Regions from separate parts of the Homo sapiens genome. Here region 2 is linked to region 1. The links are contacts of gene promoters, found by promoter capture Hi-C in human tissues and cell types (Jung and others, 2019). All regions are on one chromosome and are shown on one strand. Each heading gives the region's core, a stretch centred on a gene start or on the middle of the fragment in contact. The rest is flanking DNA. Distances are from core to core; before and after follow the strand shown.

Evidence for each region. Contacts are between HindIII fragments. The study calls those that stand out against the background at their distance.
Region 2: a contact is called between a fragment that was not itself captured here and the fragment with the promoter of CFL2 in region 1, in 2 of the 25 tissues and cell types used here (dorsolateral prefrontal cortex and lymphoblastoid cells).

Annotation. Positions count from the first base shown.
Region 1 is chr14:34,711,431-34,716,987 of GRCh38, reverse strand. It overlaps CFL2 (cofilin 2), which reads left to right and starts at 2,395. Exons shown (of 4, transcript NM_138638.5): 1 at 2,395-2,450; 2 at 3,427-3,734; 3 at 3,852-3,928; 4 at 4,011-5,557. The coding sequence starts at 2,448. The coding sequence ends at 4,123. RefSeq lists silencers at 1,959-2,548, 2,639-2,698. The HindIII fragment of the contact is 13,048 bases long and covers 1-4,917 here.
Region 2 is chr14:35,724,322-35,729,878 of GRCh38, reverse strand. RALGAPA1 (Ral GTPase activating protein catalytic subunit alpha 1) reads left to right here. Exons shown (of 42, transcript NM_001346249.2): 13 at 1,369-1,517; 14 at 4,726-4,855. Among named protein-coding and RNA genes, the nearest start is that of SNORA101B, 36 kb to the left of the region's middle. The HindIII fragment of the contact is 4,321 bases long and covers 1,041-5,361 here.

The DNA.
Region 1 (5,557 bases), core at 1,146-3,645:
CACTCCAGCCTGGGTGACAGAGTGAGACTCCATCTCAAAAAAAAAAAAAAAAAATGATGGGCAGCCTCTAGATGTTGGAAAAGGCAAAGGAGTCTCCCACTACAGTCTCTTGACTTTAGCCCCATCAGGCTTATTTCTGCTAGTTGTGGTGGTTCATGCCTGTAATCCCAACTACTCGGGAGGCTGAGGCAGGAGGCTCACTTGAGGCCAGGAGTATGAGGCTGCAGTGAGCTATGATCACATCCTGCACTCCAGCAACCTGGGTGGGCAACAGAACCAGAGACTATCTCTTAAATATATATATATAGAGAGAGAGACTTGTTTCTCTGACTCTGTAAGACCATAAATAATAAATTTGTGTTGTTTTAAACAAGTAATTTTATGGTAATTTGTTATAGCAACAGTCGAACGCTAATACATGTGGTATCTGACACTCAGATCCCCCTCCACTACACAGTGACCAAAATTCATGCAGCAATGATTGGCAATGCTGCCCCTTTACCAAGTGGTGGTAAGTTCTGGTTATAACTCACAGAGGTGAAGGCAGGAAGCTGCTACTGGCCCTGACATTCTCAGTGCCATGCTCACAAGGGCATGTAGAAAGGCTTCACAATTTTCAGAAGCTTCCTTTTCATTCTCTTTACAGCACTAAAGCATCTTAAATGTATTATTTCAGCACCTATTAAGCACCTACTATCTGTCAGGTTCCAGAAATTCAAAGATAACCAGGACTCAGATCCTTAAGGAGCTTACAGCGCAGTAGGGTGGCAGAAGACATAAACAAGTTATTATAATGTAACAAAATATATGCAAGACAAAAATAACTTCAGGAAAAGAATCTTAGAACATGTGAATTACCATCTCTGTTTGGGGAGGGTAAGAGAGAATGGGAGGCATGGAAAGGGGTTGGAGTCCGAGCTAGGGGGTGACTAGCATCTTTGGAATCCCCAGCTTTGGTGGGTAAGGTTCTGACACCCACTTTAGGCCCCAGTGTCATCAGACCTGGTCTCTGCTGGGGCTGCTGCAAATCTCTGAGGTTGGGAAGGGAAGGTAACCGCAAGATGAAGCGAACAGGAATTTGCTAATACCTACACATAGCAGATGATCAGAGCTCTGGAGAGACATTCTCCATGACTTCTTGGAAGTTCAACAGATAAAGTGAAAGGTTCCATAAATTGTAATGTACCAGCTAGATATAAAGTATTATCCACTTGCTTGGGATTCATGCTTAGACATTGGGAAATCCCTTCTCAATTTTTGTCTCTAAACGAAGTCTATCTTCCAATTAAGAAAACAAACCCAAGATATAGACAGAAAAATAGGTCTGTTTCAATGCCTAGCATGTTCCATTTAAAATACAGTAAATTTGGGCTGAAAGAACTTATCACGCAATCTAGGGCAAACACCATCTCATGACTTTCCTGCCTAACCTCAATCCTGAGACCACCAAAAACACACCATTTCCTACTGAACATTGATATACTCAGAAACTGAAATCTAAAGCTGGAAAGGGCCTTAACGATAATTTAATAACAGTTTGTTTTACACATGAAGAACCCTGAGGTATGGAGGAGTTAAGATTAAAAAAAGAGAAACTGCCTTGGCGCAGTTATATGGGCTTTGCTAGAAGAGGCTGCGTCGGCTTATTTGATATCAGCTGTCATAGCTGGAGCTTCATGAAATCTCTAAGAGAGAGTACAATCCATTTCCTATGAAGTCTAAAATGTAAAAGGATATTACTAAGGAATGCTACCACGTAATTTTTTAATCATAATTATTATTTCAACCAGAGTTTTGAAAAGTGATTTACCAACACTGCGTATCATTTTGTTTTTGCTAAGTACTATCAACTGGAGCAATCTCGTGTAGTATTTATTCTCATTTATCTCTAAACAACTGGGGGTTTTCCAAAAAGACTCAAAATGTCGAAATCCAGCCTCTTTCGGGAAAACCACAGGTAAATAAGGAAAGACACCTTCGCAGGAGTTCCCCTCACACGCACCCACCCCTGGCGCAGGGCCCTACGGAGGCGGTGGAAACGCCCCTCTGGGAGCCCAGCACTCTCTCCCACCGGCTTGACGGGTGATGCTCGGGGGCTGGAGGCGGCTCTGCCAGGCTCCCGGGCTCCGCTACCACCGCGTCGCCCCCCCCGGCCTGCAGGGCTCGCGCTCTGAGGTCAGGCCGAGGACGCGGACAGCCGGGGAGCCGGGGCCGCGAGACAGAAGGGCCGGCCTGGGAGCGGGTGGCGCCGGCTGGGGACCAGGCGTGCCCACGTGACCGCCCCGCCCGCTGCCTGCGGCCCGCCGAGCCCCGCCACCTCCCTCGGGCTGCAGCTCCCGGCGTGCCCCGCACTCTCCGCTGCCCACCCGCTCGCCCGCCCCTCCTTCTCCTCCCAGTGCCACAGAGCCGAAGCCCGAGCTGCCGCCGCAGCCACAGCCGAGGGCACTATGGTAAGACGAGCGCGCTGGCCGGGAGGCCGCGGCGAGGCGAGAAAAGCCCCCCGCACGGCCCCGGGAGTGAGGCCGCCATTTTAACCTGATTTTGGCCTCCAAGGTGGGCGCTTCTGCTCTGCGGCTCCGCTGCTCTCCAGCCGACCGGCCTGCCCTCCGGCCGTCAGGCCCTGCCCTGCTGCTCTTTGGATTTTGGGGGGCGGGGAGGGCCCGGGCGTCGGCGCAGGTTGGGGGTCGGGGCCGGGCGGGCGGGGGCGCGAGAGGGTCTGCGGACTGCAGCCGCTCGCGCCGCCTTTGCCCTTCGCTTCCTAATTTTACTTAACACGCGAGGCTTTAAAATTGGTACGTGCTGCGAACGCTGTGTGGGTCAGGGTCTGGACGGCCTGTAATAAAACCCTTACGGGGAGATTAAGGAAGAGGGAAAACACTTTTTAAAATGCTTTCTCGCCGTAAAAGCTTTTACACTCGATCAGTTAGTTTTGGAGTGTCTGCATGTGAGCTGTGTGTGGGCCGTGGGCGGTTTGGAGTTTACACTTGATTCTCTTTCCTTATGAGGAAACGTCAGTGGCTAGGATGACTTTAAAGAAAAAAATAGTAGAAGCATTAACTGAAATCCAAAAGTGTTTTTTTAAGGCCAGCCGAGTTGACACAATACAGAAGGTATTTTTGCTGCCACTCCTGAAGCTCTGACATCACCCAGTGAAATAGGAAACATTTCAGGGATGGGACAACTTGTATTTGTCCCTTTCGCTTCCACGTCCAAACCCCTTTAAGAAGGATGAATGGGCAGGATGAGTTAGACTCCTTCGCTGTATCGTCTACTGATTCTTAAAATGTGACAAATCTGATTGGACGACTTACATGGTACGGTGCAATTTTTGATGTCCAGACTAAAGTGAGTCTTCTCTAGGCAAACAGTAATTTTGGTTAAAACCAAAATACGTGTTCTGAATTACTGTTCTGTGTTTATTTTCAGGCTTCTGGAGTTACAGTGAATGATGAAGTCATCAAAGTTTTTAATGATATGAAAGTAAGGAAATCTTCTACACAAGAGGAGATCAAAAAGAGAAAGAAAGCAGTTCTCTTCTGTTTAAGCGATGACAAAAGACAAATAATTGTAGAGGAAGCAAAGCAGATCTTGGTGGGTGACATTGGTGATACTGTAGAGGACCCCTACACATCTTTTGTGAAGTTGCTACCTCTGAATGATTGCCGATATGCTTTGTACGATGCCACATACGAAACAAAAGAGTCTAAGAAAGAAGACCTAGTATTTATATTCTGGTGTGTAAAAACAAAAGAAAAAAGTACTTTTAAAATGCAAGGATTATTATTATCATAGTCAGTCTTACCTTTGTTTTTCTTATAAATGGGATTCAATAATTTTTTTTTTTTCTGTAGGGCTCCTGAAAGTGCACCTTTAAAAAGCAAGATGATTTATGCTAGCTCTAAAGATGCCATTAAAAAGAAATTTACAGGTACAAACTTGAATATTTGGGGCAGAGAAATTATTCTTTATTAATTATAATAAAGTAATAGGATAATGTTTTTTCTTTTTAGGTATTAAACATGAGTGGCAAGTAAATGGCTTGGATGATATTAAGGACCGTTCGACACTTGGAGAGAAATTGGGAGGCAATGTAGTAGTTTCACTTGAAGGAAAACCATTATAAAATGACAGTCAAGTGCCATCTGGATCTTAAGGAGCTTCCATTTCTCCAGCTCAGTCCATTGGAATAGTATTAGGTTTTGGTTTTTTGTTGTATTTCCCCCTTTCCACTGGGCCCTTCCAACACAATGAATGAAGGAAATATCATTTATTTAAGCAGCCTATCAGTGATTGCCATTAGACTGTTGAATACTGTTACTTTTATATAGAACCCAAGGAATGCCTTCCTGTCATATTTTAGCCAAAACAACTGGTTATATGCCTCCCTTGCAGCAAGCACTACAATGTATGTGATCGTCAATGTGAATAGCTTAGAATACTGCAAAGGATAAGCTAATTGAATGCCTTGAAAGTATTATCCACTGGTCAGATGGTCAACTTTTTTCAGTATTATTTATAGTTGGCACTTGATTGCAGTTCTGTGAGGCTTGAGCATTCATACACCTCACCTGCCTTGGCAAGCCTATTTTAGTGATATGGCAGCACGGATATAACACTATGCATTAAAAGCACTTTTTGTAATAAGTTTAATATCCTAAAAGGAATGCCAATTAAGTTTTGTTAACTGTGTCATCAACTTATCCTAGTACCTCAGTGTTCATTCCTGTTACCTGCATATCTTCTTAAAAGAAATAGCTGTTATTAATGCCTTTTTGTTTTCCATTGAGTGTACACTACTGAATAAGTGTAGGAGTTTTATGTTTACCATGTGAGTCCTGCAACACTAAAGATATTTTGAATATCAGTCATGATGGCAATTTCTGTATAAAAGAGCCTTAAATGGAACATTGTTTTGAGATCAAACTCCCCACCCTCACAAAAATGGCCACGTTGCAATAAAAATTGTGGCATATTACAGAACGTTGCCTTGTTTTCCTTGGAAATTTTGCAAAATGTTATGTGAAACAACTTCTAGGGTAAAAACAGCTATTACTAATCTCTGCACTGGTCATTTGAGAATTTTTTTTGTACAGCATTCATGTGTGATATTTTCCAGATTTGTTGGATCTATTTGGTTTAAAAAGTATTCTATCTTAAGGCCAACTAATATAAAATACCATTGTTAAAGAATGGTACTTTTATAAACATTAGTGTATTTATTTCCTATGTGTTAATATGAAGATCAGAAATTATTTTTTGCACTTTGGCATAAATACTTTTCAATATCTGATTTGTTCTCTGGATAAATTAGCATAGTTATTTTTTTATTCACATTTACATTTCTAAGTAGTTGTATAGTAGAAGCAGGAAGCTCTTATTGCTTATTTGGTCGTAATGAAAATAATTTGTAAAATGTCCTTTAAAAGTTTAATGATACTTCTGATGTTTCGGAACAGTCATTTCACCTACTATTTCTGAATATATTTTGCAAATTGAATTGGAATAGGAATTGATAATAGCAGTCTTAAACATTAGTAGTGGGATTTGGCTATGGTCC
Region 2 (5,557 bases), core at 1,952-4,451, 1.0 Mb before region 1:
CCGTCAGCCATGATGATCTCTCTCCCAATCTCTGTTCATTTTTCATTGTATTTTAAAATAGGATTGATCTGCAAAAGTTTGGGGCTGGGGAAGACCTGTTCTTTCACTACAGGTAGTGTGAGAATCTCTGCTCCACATACTCTGGCTGTTTTTCAGCATCATCTTCCACTGCTTTTCCCCTGGTTTACTTCACTCTGTACTCCTTGCCGTTCCTCAAGCATGTTAGGCAGGCTCTCACCTCAGGTCCTTTAAACTTGATTTTCCTCTTTTTCTGAAATACTATTCTCCTAGACAGGAACGTAGCTCCATTTGTCTTTTCCTTTTCAGTTTGCTGATACTTATTCTCTACCACCCACTCTTCCTTTTATGCTTACTGGGCCCCTCAGATCCATGGGATGAGAGTGAGCACCCTTGTCTTATTCTTGGCTTTTTGTGGTATTTCTCAAGTTCTATTACTATGTATATACTTTTTTTTATACTTTTTTATAAATGCTCTTTTTTATTTCAATGAATGTGTGCTTTTTTCTTAGTTTGCTAAAAATTGTTTTCAGTCATAAGTGTTGAATGCTTTTTCTGCATACATAGTGATAATCAGTTTTTTCCATTTTAATATTTTGATGGGATATAGTAATTTTTCTAATGGAATCTTCTGTCACCAAAACAGATATACAAACATAAAAATAAATAAGAAAAAGAGGATAAAATGTTTTGAACAACTCATTCAGAAAATTCTTCCTGATTTAGGTGTCATCTTTTATTCTAAACTATGTGTATTTATTTTTTTTTCAATTTATTATAGCAATAGAGTTATTAAAGCTTCTCAGTTTAGAAGTACTGTGTTTTAGGCCAGGTGCAGTGGCTCACACCTGTAATCGCAGCAATTTGGGAAGCCAAGGTGGGCAGATCACTTGAGGCCAGGAGTTTGAGACCAGCCTGGCCAGTATAGTGAAACCCTACCTCTAGTAAAAATACAAAAATTAGCCTGGCATGGTGGCACACATGCCTGTAATCCCAGCTACTTGGGAGGCTGAGGCAAGAGAATCTGTTGAACCTAGGAGGCAGAGGTTGCAGTGAGCCGAAATCATACCGCTGCATTCCAGCCTGGGTGACTAAACAAGACTCTGTCTCGAAAAAAAAAAAAAAGAAAGAAATACTGTTGTTTGCACTTGGTTTATTTTCTTTGGGTACCTACTATTAACTTTATATTTGTCTAGGTAAACATAAAAATAGGTAGGTTTAATGAGTTTATGTTTCAGTTATTAAGCTTGTAGAATTTACCCACAGTGTGATCAGTGTCTGTTTCTCTTTGAATAAGAAATTTGCCATTGAAATTCCTTTGTGAATAGCTAATGATTTCTTTTGTCTTAGGTGTTTATTATAAACTCATCAAATATATTTCTTCTTGAACCTGCAAATGAAATAAAAAATCTTCTGGATGAACACACAGATATGTGTAAACGCATTCTTAACATTTATCGGTACATGGTTGTACAAGTATCAATGGACAAAAAGACTTGGTAAAAAAATTTTTATCCTTTATGTCTATGTGTTTTTATTGTGTACACAGGTATAGTAATTTTTAGAGAAATAGTGTCTGTGAAGAGGGTTTGTTTACAGTATTATAGAGGCTCCTATTATTGAATAAATATAAAATTAATCATAGTGGCAATAGTTCCTTTCAGCTTATCTGAAACTTTGTTCGGACTTCCGCAAGACCCCTTGGACTGTCTTCCTGAAGTGAGCATATAATGGCCTCATCCTCCTCAACCCCTAAGGAAAGAATACATGCATACAAATGTATATGAGTAAATGAAGTTTACTTGTGTGTGAATGAGTTAATGAATAAGTTGATGATTGACTGAATATGTGAATGCCTGAATCCTTAATCTGGCATTCAGAGCTGTATACCGTCAGGCCCTGCCTACTTTTCCTGTCTGAAGTCTAACCTCCAGCTTTCAGGATAAGATCCTGCTTCCCAGCTTTATCAAGTTGTTCTTCCCTGGGCACCTTCTGAACTTTCCTTTAGAATGTCTAATTCTGCTGTTTTTCCTGTTGTCACCGTAACTGTCCCTTAGATTCACCTTCCTGTTTCTACATATCCTTACTTAAATTTTTTCTTCACTTGTTTCCATTCTATATTTGTACTTCTGTATAGTTCTTGTGAAAACTGTCTTGATCCCTAAAATACTTGTGTAAATATCTGTTTACCACCATAGAACTGAGAACCCCTAGAAGGTATTTACTGGTTTTCTTATTTTTATATTTCCTACATTTCTTAGTATAGTACATTATATATCATTGGTGCTCTATAAATAGTTGTCTAATTGATTGGAAAAATAGACCTTTTGGGGAGATGGGAAAGTGGTTCTGCAGTTTTTGTAAAAATGAAATGTTTATCATAAAATTCAAACAAAGAAAAGTTTAAAAAAGAAAAAAGCTCAAAGGTTCACTCTCTAGAGATAGTAGTGATGTTTGTCCTTTGGTGAATATCTAGCTCATCAAACCACACACACAGTTATATAGTATTATACTATATATATATATATATATATATATATATATATATATGCCATAATTTTCTTAACCAGTCCTGTACTGATGGACATGTAGTTATTTCTCTCTGTTTTGAGGCAAAGAGAGGACAATGAACATTCTTATATGTATTTTATTTTCCTCTACATGTGGCAAAACATAAATTAGGTATATGCTTTGACTAAGTACTCCTAATTTTTTTTAAGAAAGAAGACTACTTAGTCAAAGCATATGCCTAATTTATGTATAAAATGGCTTTATATTTTGAAAAGATTCTTTACTAACAGTATTAATAGAATGGCATATAGATGTAGTTATTATTATTAACACATTTGGGACACTTATTTGTGCCACATAGCTTTCTAAGCACTTTACACATATTTTCTTACTTAATTCTTACAGCACCCTATGATACAGATAATACTGGGAAGTTAAGTAACTTGTCCTTGTTCACACAGCTGTTAAGCAGTGGACAGAGATTTGAACTACGGTTTTTCTGACTTCAGAGCCCAAGTTATTATTAGCCAATAACTACATTGGACAATTATCTTGTTAGTCCTTTTTTTTCTTTCTGTATACTTTGAATCATTGATGAGCCAGATTATAGTGACTGACTTGCTATGTAGAAAACAATTTTAGAATTTTTTTCTTAATTTTTAAACTTCCCTTGAAGTAATAGCATTTTGGGAGGTTTTTCATATATTTTACATTGAATTTTTATATAGAGAGAGATGTTTCGCCTTGTTGCCCAGGCTGTTCTTGAGCTCCTGGGCTGAAGCGATCCACCTGCCTTGACCACCTCCCAAAGTACTGGGATTACAGGTGTGAGCCACCACACCTGGCCAGAATTTATAAAACTTTATTAATTAAAATCATTTTTATTGTATTACAAAGTGAAAATATTGTATGATTTATGAGTGAGTTATGGTTTGACAGCAAATAAGATTTATTTGGAAAATCTATGCTTTATTGCATTTGTAGTTGATTTCAAATAGCTTTTTATTTCATGTAGCTAAGCTAGAAGCATAAGGTTACAAATGTGGCACCTTTGATTTTTATTCCGTGAATAAATGCATGCATTTGTTTGCTAATACGTCCAGGATATTTTTAATGTAGTGATAGTTTTCTGTTTGATTCTACTCTGACTTCTCAGAAGAACCATGACATCTAGATCTAGGATCTGTTGCCGCCCCTGCCACATTTCTCACAGTGACTGTTCCACGTATCGCTATGCCTGGAATGGACTTGCAAAATAACCAGAGGGGAGGAGGCTGTGATAGAGAATTGGGCTGATACACCCAACTGAAAGTCCCTTTAGCCTCTTTTTCATATGTGGTTGAATCAAGTTTTGAAGTATCAGTGTAAATAAGGTAGTTTTATGGTTTTAATAATAAGCATCTAAGAGAAGGAGGCAAGGTAAGGATAATAATAGAATTGGTTTAACTTGCAGTACAGACAAAAAAAGATTAAAAAACTGCATAATGAAAAGAGTGGAAAGAAACAATAGAGTAATGGCCCTTGATTAATTATCAAGCTCACTGCAGACTCAAACTCCTAGGCTTAAGTGATTCGCCCACCTCAGCCTCCTGAGTAGCTGAGACTATAGGCATGTGCCACCACACCCAGCTAATTTTTTTTTTTTTTTGAGAGACAAGGCTTGCTGTGTTGCCCAGGCTTCTTTGTGATCTATTAATTAAGATGTCATATAATTTCTGAAATTGAGATTGGTATGATTCTCAATATGTAGTTACTCAACATATTATAAAGATGGATTTGATTGATTTGATATAGTTATTCTCCATATTATAAAGATGGATTTGATTGGATTCCATCTGGGTAGAACTATATTGTGTAGATGAGTGTTCTTCAGATAGCTCCTTAAGGTCACTACTTAATTTGTGGTTGCGGAGACGGGAGCATTCTCCACATTATCACTTCCAGTTCCTCAGCTTTTGAATAGGTTTTTATTTGATGAGAGGATATTGTGGCCGATAAATGATTTTAAATGATTGATGTAGATACATAAAATGTAATTTTAATTTTTAATATTTAAGGAACTCTAAACATTTGAAATTGTCTTTCAAAGATGTTTAATATTTGAATTTTTATAAGAAGTATGTATTTGAAAGTTAACTATTAACCAAATGCAAACATATGCAAGAAGGAAACATTAATCAGTCTTTTTATTTTAAGGGAACAGATGCTGCTTGTGTTGCTCAGAGTCACGGAATCTGTACTGAAGATGCCATCACAAGCTTTTCTACAGTTCCAAGGGAAAAAAAATATGACCTTGGCAGGTCGACTTGCAGGACCACTTTTCCAGGCAATAAAAATAAATAAATAGATGAATAGCTGGATAGATATGGGTTGTTTTGTTTTGTTTTGTTGTTTGTTTGTTTTTTAAAATTCATTGAACCCTGAACTTGTTACCAGAAAAAAAAGTTTTAAATTAGAGATTATTTCTTATTTATTAAGGGATCTTTTGTAGAGCTAACTTAAAAGTTGCTCATCTAAATAAGCTATTTGCCATACATAAAACCTAGTATAAGAGTGGAGGTAATATCAGGTCTGTGAACAAACAGGCTAATGATATTTATTTTATCTCTTGTGTAGTATACATAATATGTGGTTGCAAAAACCTGGCAGTGTTTTAGGGATAATGACCTGACTGCTTTATGAGTTTCCGTATCTCTGGGACTGCTAGGAAAAACTGTCTTTTTATGTTATTCTGTAATAATGAAAAAGTAATAAATAATTAAGATTGATTCTTATCATGCTTTTTTTTAATAAGACTTTATTATCCTCCCTTCTCAGTTGGTGGTAGTTTGATTACACAGGAATTCTATATTGTGTTTTTTAAATCTGAGGATAGAGTGCTGACTTTAAATGTATTATGGATTCTTTGAAAAAAAGAAAACAAAAAATTTTTTTAAGATGATACATGAAATACAAATACATGATTCTTAATGTCAAGGGTAAAAGCTGTCTCAGATCTAATTCTTGGCCAAGAGTAGCCATTTAAATT